4 separate regions of the Homo sapiens genome follow, and regions 1, 3 and 4 are each linked to region 2. Evidence: promoter capture Hi-C in human tissues and cell types (Jung and others, 2019). All regions are on one chromosome and are shown on one strand. Each heading gives the region's core, a stretch centred on a gene start or on the middle of the fragment in contact. The rest is flanking DNA. Distances are from core to core; before and after follow the strand shown.

Region 1 (2,700 bases), core at 41-2,540, 160 kb after region 2:
CTGTCCAAGAACATCCTCCCTTCTGTGATTCCCAAAGTGGCAGCCAGAGGTGAGGCGCAGGGAGTGCAGGGTGCACCCTGCAGAAATGCAGTCCCCAGGACACGCTCACACCCGATGCCTGCAGGCTGTGGGGCAACACGGAAAGGCCGCTGGCCACGGCTGGGCCCAGACCTGCAGCCTCCAGTGGTGCATGCTCAGCTCAGCACAGGCTTCATCTCTGATGCGAGCCACCAGCCACCGAGGCCCCGCTGAGCAGCTCCTCTGAGAGATGCCGAGACACTGGGGAGGAGTGAGAAGCTCCTCAAGGTTCCCTCTCTGCAAACGCCAGGTGCAGGGTGAGCAGAAACTGCCTTTGCAGAGTGCCAGGCAGGGCCCGTCTGATGAGTTCAGGCACACTGGACGGTCCATTTTTTTTCAGATATTCTGCTATGGACACAAAATTCACCATCCCCAGGCAAATTCTCACATTTATGCCAGCCCCTACTCTCCGATGAGGCACCCAGGTTCCCCAAAGCTGAGTTTTCCCAGGTTTGCATCTTCCAAGAGAACAGCAATCACTCCAAGCAGGTGAAAGCTTTCTGTCAGCCTCCACCACGCAGGAGGTGAGTACCTGGGACAGAAGCTGAGCCCACAGCTCACAGAGGCAGCTCCTCCACGTCGCTCCCCCAGAGGGAAGATCATTGCCAGAATCCAGCAGGGGATGCTTCTGACCTGGCATCTTTTCCACAGGCGTCCAGTTCTGAGATCTGGAAGCCAAACTGACCTTATGTTTGGAAAGGTGAGTTCAAGCCCTCAGTGCAGCACCCTCCTGCATCCTTTGACTGGATTCCCATAAAAAATCCAATCGAAATAAGGATGAGAGTTCCCCACACTATGCAAAGACCCCAGGATTTGTGGATGCCATTTGTTCAGGTTACATGCCTATTCAACCATCACCCAACATCTCACCTGGCACCTGCTTCGTATGGGAAGTCTGCCAGGAAGTACAGCCCAGCGGTGATCAGGAGACCAGTAGTGAGCAGGAGCCCAGCAGTGAGCAGGAGCGACCAGGTGCATGCAGTGGTGGTTAGCATTATTTCTTTAAAGATGAAAAGCTTAAGAAGTTATTTCCTTTCATTCATGGTGCAGAATTTCATTTTAAGTATGATTAAAAAATCAAAAAAGGAAATATGAATGTGCATAAATTTAAAATTCTGTGGCATATACCAACAAACAAGGTTATAAAAAGAGGACAAACCAAAAAATATTTTCATTACATAAAACCGAAGAAGTCAACATTAATTATTTATAACAAATTCCTTCAGAAAATCTGCCTGCGCTGTGGAGCCCCAGAAGCATGTGGACACCTTTTATCTAGCCCACACAGCACTGAGTAAAATAATGCATTCAGGACCCCGCATTCCCGATGCAATGTAGGGGGAGAAACCGGAGCTGGAGTCCCGCGGCTCTCTCCTCCTTCATCCCTCTCTTCCCTTCCCACCTTCTCTGGGAAGTCTCCCCTGTCTCTCAGCTCAAGAATCTCCAGGATGGCGGAGCCTGCATAGCACATACGAAAATCACATGGAATCCTCCTCTATCTTCCTGTTCCGTGTTTGTCTTCCAGGGACCTCCTCAAAGCCACAGACCCTGTTCCCTTTTCAGGATCGGGTACACAATACATTGTGCAATGAAAGATTGATGGATTAAGATGCCTCACGTACGAGATTTTTTTTTTTAAAAGATGCTTGTTGTTTTGAAAAAAAAATGCGTGCGTGCGTGCGTGCGTGCGTGCGTGTGTGTGTGTGTGTGACTTGAGGCAAGTTAAGGAGTGTGTGGGGAGAAACACTGATATGGAAGGGTGTTCACTGCCCATGCAGGGGTGGAGAGGAGGGCCTAGTGCCTTTGGCACAAGCATGCTTATCTTCAATGCATCCTTTATTTTGGCACAAGAAGATGCTCCAGGTTCAACTTGGATACTTCTTGGTCCCAAACTGGACCAGTCATTTCTCCAAAGAACCCTGGGTCCTTATGGTGGGGAAATGGTATTTAGAGACCATAGTCTCTGTGCTGAGAATGTTCATTGTTACTGAATTTGTCATCGTTTCTTGGCCTTTTTGGTGAACAGAAGTAATACACACACACTATGGAAAGTACACCATAACATCATTGTAATATTTACCATGCCAATGTAGGATTACTGGCTTCTATGTGGTTTATTCCATTTTATATCTGTGTCTTTTTTCTCTTACATGCATCATCTTTATACATAATTGCTATGTCTCACTACCTGTGTACACTCCACCCACACGTCCGTAGTATTTTCAGAACAACAAGGCCGACAACAATACCATGACTACTAGCACAGTTGCCAAAACCAGTGTAAGATCACTTAGCCTCTCTCCAGCAGTGGGATCTATAGGATATAATCTCACGAGCTCTACATGGCGTTTTAAAGTTACCTGCAGTAATTCACAAGAAGGCAGGTGCAGAAAAAGCCAGCATTCCTCCTTCCCTTCCACTCTTTTTCCTCTCACCGCAGATAACTATTCCACAGGATTTCAAAACTTACTCTCCCACATTTTAAAATGCAAGTGATTACATATGTGTGGGTGCATATTTGCATACAATTATATCCACAGCCCCCTTTCTTAGATGAAGCTGGCCTGCTCTGCACACCGTTTTCCGTCTTTCCTTTTCCACCTACGATATGCCTCCGTTACC
Region 2 (2,700 bases), core at 74-2,573:
CTGGCTCCTCTGCAGGTGACTTCAGGACTTTGAGGAAGATGCCCCCAAGCCATCTTTCTAGGTTCCATATCTGCATCTCCATGGAGCCTGTGTCTTCCCCAGGTTCATCCCTGGACCTCATCTGCATCTGGCATAGCCTTAATTAAGTCTTGAGAGGTCTGCCCTAAACACCACGGAACCCGAGGGGGGTCTTAACTAGTCATAGTCTCAGGACCACACATCTCCATGGGCATTGAAGGAAAATCCGATGGGATTTTGTTTCTCGCGTGGCTTTGCTGGGCTGGGGTCACAGTTTAAAATCCTTCTACTGATCTTGCCAAGGAAGAAGGCACCTCGGCATCCCGATGGCAGCAGGTGGCAGGGTGCGGTGGTGGTAGTGGGAGGTGCAGTGCTGGTTCCGTCTCTGGGGGCTTTAGGTATACGGCCTCTGGGGCCCCACCTGCTACTGTCTCTGTCTCTAACCTGGCTCAGTCCAAGGCGAGAGTGCACCTTCAGGCCAGCTCTTCTCCAAAAGGCGAACACAACCACTGAAGTAAGTCCACAGCCATCCTACAGGTGGGATGTCTGGCCTCAGGGCTCAGGGGGTTCCCTGGGCCCTAGGAGTGAAATTCACCTACTCTCATCCTCCCTACAGGCTAAGCCCCTGCATTCACACTCAAGGTCTCCCCTTCAGATGTGTACCTGGGTCATAGTCCCCCAGGCTCCCCACTCTTCTCTCCTTTCCCTCCTGTTCATGTGCCCCTGTGCTCTACATACTGCCCCAGGAAACAGTGGACACACACGCATTTTCCTCTCCTTTTCACCCTGGCAGCCTGCCTGGACCTCATAGTGGCAGTTTCCAAGCCTCCTGAGGAGAGTCCCAAGTCTGCTCATGATGTGGTGAGGGTTACTGTGTAAGGCCCACACCAGTGGCCCATGACCAGCCCTGGCCATGAGGACTCTAGGTATTCGGATAAGGGAGAGAGACCTCTTTGAAGCAGAACATCTTTAGCAAACCCTTCCTTGTTCCCCGTTCTCAGCTCATGGTGACATCTGCTCACCGCTGAACAAAGGTGGGAGGATGGGCCTGGGCTCTTTGCCCAAGGCCACAAGCAAGTCAGCCTGTTCCCTGGAAGGAGACCGTCCCCCTGCAGGGATGACAGTCGCCATGGGATCCCCAAGGGGCGGGGGGTAGGGAGCAGCCCTGGAGATGATCTCGCACCTCCTGCTGGCGTCACCAAGCCCGCGGAGAGGAAGCGGCTGTCACTCGGAAGATGAGAAATTGGAGTCTGAGGGAGGCTGGCTTCTCTAGCCCTATAAGAGGGCAGGCACCTTTTGAAGCAAAGACCAGAAGAGATGGAGCTGGACAGAGCTGTGGGGGTCCTGGGCGCTGCCACCCTGCTGCTCTCTTTCCTGGGCATGGCCTGGGCTCTCCAGGCGGCAGACACCTGTCCAGGTAAGGGCACTCCAGGGCCTCCTCCTGGAAACTTCTCGTCCCTGAAAGCTGGCAGCTTCGTGATTGGTGGCTTCCTGGCTTCCAGGCCTTGCACCAGGCCGTGTGGAGCATCGTCTAACGAGACAGCAGCTCTGCATGCCTCATCTTATGTGAACAAACGCAGAGGCCCCGAATGGATGTGGCATCTCAGAGACGGAGCTTCCTCTGCTTGCCCTCCCATAATGGAAACCGAGGCAGGTTTCCAGTCTCCCTGGGCCACATGTCCCCCTCTAAGCGTAAAAAGCGTAGTCATGGTGTTGTGTGGGGAGGTGAGGCTTGTGGTGCCAGCTGGGTAGACACCAGTCAGATATTCTGCCATGGTCGCCATCACAGAGAGACAGGGTGTGAGGTGGGGATAAGCACCCGGAAAGACAGGGTGTCAGGCGGGGATGAGCACTGCAGGACCTTTCCATCCAGGACCTGCTGGGCTCTGGAGATGGCAGTTCCCATGGTGTCCCTGATGCGGCACAATAAGGGTGGCATTGTCCCCGTGAGTTCTGGACCTCCTTCGGGGCTCCCGAGGGGACACTCGGGTGCCAAACCATGGGCTCCGGCGCATGCGAGGGCAGGTTGAAAATGCAGGTTCTGGAGTCAGGTCCTGACTCCGTCTACCCGGGGCTGGGATGCAGGGTCAGGAATTTGTGATGCTCCTGATGCTTGCAGAGATTCGTGTCAGGATTTCTGGAATGCATGTGAGACACAGAGCTCTGCGGTGTGCTGTGACTAGCATCGCATTCAAGGAGCAATCCGTGGCGTGAAGTGTGACACAGGCCAGGAACAGCGGGGATTCGCTTGGAAACTCCTAGTGGCTCGTTGTGGAGTGGTGGGGTTAGGGTGGCATTATTTTCTTCCTTAAATACTTCTAGAGTTTCTAAATGATCAAATAATAGCACGTGTTATTTTTGTAACACACTCACTTGAATTTGAGTTATCTAATTAAAAACAACAAGCTGCATTCCAGCTCTAGTTTCGCACCAACTTGTTCAGTGTCCTTGAAGGACGCCTCCCTCTGTGGAGGAACAAGGTGGACCCACAGGAGCCCATCCACTCTCAGATCTGCTCCAAGATCAGGCGTGGGAGTTGCAATGGTAGCCTCTCTCCCTGTGTCCTTCTCACCCGATATTGATTACAATGATATGATAGATGAGAACAGACGAGATTAGGATGCTGTCTTAAATGGTAGGAGCTGAAATGAACCTGCACCCCTCGGTAGGTAAGGGAACAGA
Region 3 (2,745 bases), core at 91-2,590, 180 kb after region 2:
TCACAAGAAAAAAAGAAAAAAGCTATAAACCAATACTCCTCACAAACATAGACACAACAATCCTTAACAAAATAGCAACTCAGGAAATCTAGCAACATATACAAATAATAGTACATTATGAACAAGTAAATTTTATCTCAAAATGCAAGGTTGGTTTAACATTTGAAACTCAATCAGTGTCATTCACCATATTAACAGAATAAAGGAAGGCAGAAAACCATATAATCATTTTAATAGATACAGAAAAACATCAGATAAAAATTCCATATCCAATCATAAACTCCCAGAGAAATAAGAATAAGGGTAGGATAAAGGGTAGCTTTATAAAGCATACCCCTTATAAAGAATAAAGGGTAGCTATGTAAAATCCATAGCTAATTATCACACTTAATCTTCCCTATAAGATTGGTAACAAGAGTTCTTGCTCTCGCCACTTCTATTCAAACATTTACTTGAAATTCTAGTCATTGCAAAAGGAAGATGAAGAAATAAAAGCATTCAGATTTGATAAGAAATAAAGCAGTTCCTATCTGTGGGTAAAATAATTGCTTGTGTAAAAAATGCTAAGAAGTCTGTAAAACAATTACTGGAATTAATAAGTGCATGTAGCAAAATTGAAAGATACAAGATACAGAAATCAGTCACAGTTTATATACTAATATCAAACAATTAGAAAGTGAAATTTTAAAAATTACTCTTACAATAGCACCACAAGCCACAGAAGGAATGAATTTAACAAAAAAGTGTAACTCCTCCTCACTGAAAACCATGAAATGCTGCTGAGAGAAATTTACGTAAGTAAATGGAAGACAGACCCTATTTATGTATCCGGCATTGTCAAAAGGTCAGTCCTCTCTAAACTGATCTATAGATTCAGTGCAACCCAGGAGGCATTTTACTGGAATGGAGAAATTGACAGGCTGATTAAAAAAATGTATACAAAAATGGTAATGACTTAGAATAGCCAAAGCAATTTTTAAAAAGAACAAAGTTGAAGGGAAGGCGGGGTAATCAAAGGTTGGTTAAGGGATGTAAATGGCCAGCTAGGGAGGAGGAATGAGTTCAGGGCTCTATTGCACCTAGGATGACTGTAATTAATTAACAACAATTTAATAAATAGCTAGGAGAGTGGATTTCAAATGTTCCCAACACACAGAAATGATAAATGTTTGCAGCAATGGCTATGCTAATCACCCTGAAATCAAATGATCATTACATACTGTATACATGTATTAAAATCTCACACTGTGCCCCATAAGTATGGGCAATTATTCTATGTCGATTAAAAATAATTATAAAAGCAATAAATAAATACAGATTCCCAGGCCCAGATCCATCCACTGGATTTGAATTGTCAGCAAAGGAACCTGGGGTCTACATTTTAATGATACCTCTGTCATTCCTATCATCAAGCAAGCGGCAGAAACCCTTAGACTAATTCTACTTGGATCAAATGGGAAATGTGTTTAGTGCCGAATATAAATAATTGTGTAATTGTGAGCTTTCCAAGTATAGTTCTACTTAAATCACATCATCAAATGGAGACATTCTATGTTTCATGTACGTAAAGCACAAAACAAGCAAAACTAAGGTTTAAAATCCAGAGTAGTGAGCACTGGGGCTTAGGGACTGGAAAGGAGCAGGAGGGGCTTTCTCGGGGACTGGGAACGTTCTGTTTATTTAACTTGTGCTGGATTCATGGATGTGTTTGGTTTGCAAAAATTCATCAAGTTATAGGTATATAAACAAAGTGTATGATATATAAACCCACATATATATGCCATGTGTACGATACACATATACATCAGTAAAAGCAGTTTTCAGAAAGATTTAAAGGTGTAGGCTAACCTAAAAAGATGTAAAGGTAAAGGTTCATTGAAAAATAAGCTTAAATATAAATGCTAAGAGTAGCTCCACTAGATCAGCATTTTTATTAATATGAAGGATACACAGCCCAAATATAAGTGGACTTCAGATTATGTGCTTCACCCCTGAAAAAGCACAAAAACAAAGTGGAGGGCTCAAACTCATCTGATTTTAAGATTTATTGTAAATGTATAATAACCAAGACAGTGAGGATTTTGCAAAAGGATACATATATAAAGCAGTGATCTCTAACAGAGAGTGCAGAAATATTTCACACATATGTGAAATTCATGATTAACCAAAGTGCAGTGGCAATTCATGGGGAAAGAAGAATTTTTTTGACAAATGCTGCTGGAATTATGGGGTAAACCTATGAAGAGAAAATGAAAATTGACCCTCACCTCACACCACATACAAAAGCAAAACTCGAATCATAGGGCAAAGTGCAAAAGCTAATACTAAACTTCCAGAAGAAAACAGGAGAAAATCTTTGTAACTGTGGGGCACAGATTTCTTAGGTTGGTTGCAAAAAACACAAACCACAAAATATAAATTGAAAAAGTTAACTTTATCAAAATCGAAAACTTGAAAGCCACCGCTAAGAAAACAAACCAAAAAGGAGCAAGGCACAGAGTGGAAGAGAGTATTGAAAATACATCTATCTGACAAAAGACTTATACCCAGAATATAGGAAGAACTTTTACAATTCATGGAGAAGACAAAAATATCTATTAGAAAATGGGCAAAACAGCTGGGCACAGCTCAAGACAATATGCACAGGGCCAATAAGCACACAAGAAGATGCCCAGTATCTTTGGTCATCTGGGGCAAGGGTGGACCGGGAGACTGCGAAGGGACTGCTGAGGCCATCCAGGCTGG
Region 4 (2,700 bases), core at 101-2,600, 140 kb after region 2:
GGAGACTGGTTGGCAGTGGGGTTGAAGGCAGGCGCCACAGTGGCCCAGGTCCCTGGGGACACCCCGTTCGAGTGGTGCCAGCCTCCAGGTCAGAGCCAAAACACCTTGGAAAGCACCTGGCCCGTTTCAGATATGGGGAAAGCAGAAAGAGACAGACCAAGAACTGCGGGTCCCTGGACTTCCCACAGCTCACGCAGCACTCCAGGGTCCAGGGTGCGCCCAGCTGAGCTCACTTGCCTGTGCCGAGGCTGTGCCCTATGACATTGTAAACCAGAGTGTTCCCCCAACTTCCCATTGGCTTACCCTGCATTTCAGGGCCCACGGTGCACCCCAGCTGCGCTCACCTGCCTGTGCTGAGGCTGTGCCCTATGACATTGTCACCCTGGGTGTTTTGGGAGGATACACAAATGGTAGGACATTGTGTGGAGAACAAAAGATATATCTCTTAATATGTGCAATGGGACCCCTGTTCTATAAACAAACAAAAACTACTCGATTGTAAAAAAGAACGGAAGGAAGCGCGTGAGCTGCTGTGAGGACCAACCCCCAGAAGCAGTGGGGAGAGGCAGAAGAGCCAGGGGGCTTGGATGTGATCTCAGCTGCACGATGGGATCGCAGACAGGCCACCTCAGCTCTCTAGGCCTGAGTCTCCTTGCCAGTAAAGTGAGGCTCAGAAGGCCCTCACTGAGAATCACTTGCTCAGTTTTTGGAAAAATTACAGGATGATTGGAAGATTACATGTGTGCCCAGCATGGTGTGTGTCTCACAGGTACACGCCCTTCATCCCCAGCAGCTACAGTAATGATCTTTGCTTGGTGAGATTACGGCCACTTACTTTCTTTTTTACACCATGTCTGTATTTTCTCAACTTTCTATCATGGCTATGTGTTATTTTCATAATCAGGAAAACAATAACCATATTGAAACCTAGCTACAGTCACCATCCACCATGGTTCTGATGGGAGGTGTCTGCGCATGCCTGCTTCCCTGCCAGAGAGAGGAATTTCATGCCACAAGACCTCAGCCCTGCAAAAGGAGCCTCCTCAGCCCCGGGGGCACTTTCTGGAAAGGAGCCTGGTCTGTGCCTCTGTCCTGCTGGCAGCAGCTTTCCGGCCTTTCTTGCTAATCAGGACCTGTGACTCATTATTGTGTTTCTGAAGAGAACACCTCACCCCTTCAGAGTGGAGCAGCCCACGTGGGGCTGTGACAGCTGCCATGGTCAACCCCACAGCTGCTCCCCATGCCCCCCACTTAATAATGGACGAGGCTGATGACAGCCTCCTTGAAATGGAAATATTGACCTACATGCTTCAAAGCAAGTGAGGAGATTGTGTTTGCCGGCATTGCATTCCCTGTCACCAGTTTTGCCTTTTTAGAGAACTGTGAAGGGTATTTGTTCCCAGAATTTCTGACAAATCTCTGCCACGTGCCACCACCTCATCTCAGCACTCACTCAGGCGATGTGCATTTCACTGATCACCTGCTGCAGGCTGCACGGGGGCGGGAGGACTGTGAGGCCAATCACACCTCCAGCCTTAGAAACCAGATCACAGGACCTGGGAAGCGGCTCCGGAGGGCCCAAGAAGGTGTTCCTAGGGGGTAATGGTGGCGTGGGATCTCCCAAAAGAGTGGCCTGGACGTTAGTGGCATTCCTGGGAGAGGAAGGAGGACCTTGGAGGTGCACAGTGTTGGGTGCTGCCTCTCCATGGACCAGAAGGAAAAATGTCCAGTCAAGGAAGCAAAGGTGGGAGGGGAGAGAGGAAGCTGAAGAGGTGGGCTGGAGTCCAGCAAGGTGATGCGGGATGCTAATTCGGACAGCCACGTGGACAGAGGCGAAGGGGATGGACCATGGGGACAAGAAGGGGAAGGCAGGCACCTGTCGGGAGATCTTCGAGCTCCTGACATCACGTCTGTGCCTGGCTTCGTGCCTCCTACGGGGTTCAATAAAGAAGACACCATCTCCACTCACTGAGCTTATGATGCCGATGGCCCTGGTTCTCACACTTAAAATGTGCACAAAAATCCACTGGGGAGTGTAAGAATGGAAGCTTCTTGGGAGCCGGCCCAGGTACAGCCGGAGCAGCTATGTTAACATCAGACGAAGGAGACACGAGAAGGAGAATTGTCAGGGATAAAGGCAACATTACATCACCATAAAAGACTTGATTTTTCAAGGAGACATACAAATCTAAAAGATATACTTAATAACACAGCTTCAAAACACCTGAAGCAAAAAATGAGAGAGCTGAAAAGTGAACTAGACAAATCCATAATTACTGTTGGAGATGTAAACGATTCTCTCTCAGTACTTGGCAGAAAATCCGTGAGGATGTGGATGACCTGAACAACACCGTCAGCCAACTTGGCCCACCTGGCATCTCTGGTACACTCTACCCAACGTCAACAGAATACATGTTCTTAAGGGTACGTGGAAGCTTCCCTAAGACAGACCAGATTATGAGCCACAAAACAAATCTGAAATTTAGAATACAAATCATATAAAGTGTGTTCACATACCACAGTCTTAAAATGAAAATCAACAAAAGAAATATATGTGGAAAATCCACAAGTATTAGGAATTAAATAACATCTTTCCAAAGGACATATGAGTCAAAGGAGAAATCTCAAGGTAAATTTAAAAATATTTTGAACTGAATGAAAGTAAAAATACATTGTGTCAAAATTGGTGGGACGCAGCTA

What was found. The method cuts DNA at HindIII sites, captures the fragments that hold promoters and counts their contacts. A contact is called where the count stands out against the background at its distance.
Region 1: a contact is called between a fragment that was not itself captured here and the fragment with the promoter of FCN2 in region 2, in 2 of the 25 tissues and cell types used here (H1 embryonic stem cells and liver).
Region 3: a contact is called between a fragment that was not itself captured here and the fragment with the promoter of FCN2 in region 2, in 2 of the 25 tissues and cell types used here (liver and thymus).
Region 4: a contact is called between a fragment that was not itself captured here and the fragment with the promoter of FCN2 in region 2, in 5 of the 25 tissues and cell types used here (IMR-90 fibroblasts, dorsolateral prefrontal cortex, mesenchymal stem cells and 2 more).

The regions. Positions count from the first base shown.
Region 1 is chr9:135,039,471-135,042,170 of GRCh38, forward strand. No RefSeq gene overlaps it. Among named protein-coding and RNA genes, the nearest start is that of OLFM1, 47 kb to the right of the region's middle. The HindIII fragment of the contact is 3,441 bases long and covers 1-2,700 here.
Region 2 is chr9:134,879,487-134,882,186 of GRCh38, forward strand. FCN2 (ficolin 2) reads left to right here and starts at 1,324. Exons shown (of 8, transcript NM_004108.3): 1 at 1,324-1,435. The coding sequence starts at 1,336. The HindIII fragment of the contact is 19,799 bases long and covers 1-2,700 here.
Region 3 is chr9:135,057,753-135,060,497 of GRCh38, forward strand. No RefSeq gene overlaps it. Among named protein-coding and RNA genes, the nearest start is that of OLFM1, 29 kb to the right of the region's middle. The HindIII fragment of the contact is 4,932 bases long and covers 1-2,745 here.
Region 4 is chr9:135,022,499-135,025,198 of GRCh38, forward strand. No RefSeq gene overlaps it. Among named protein-coding and RNA genes, the nearest start is that of OLFM1, 64 kb to the right of the region's middle. RefSeq lists an enhancer at 71-711. The HindIII fragment of the contact is 4,205 bases long and covers 1-2,700 here.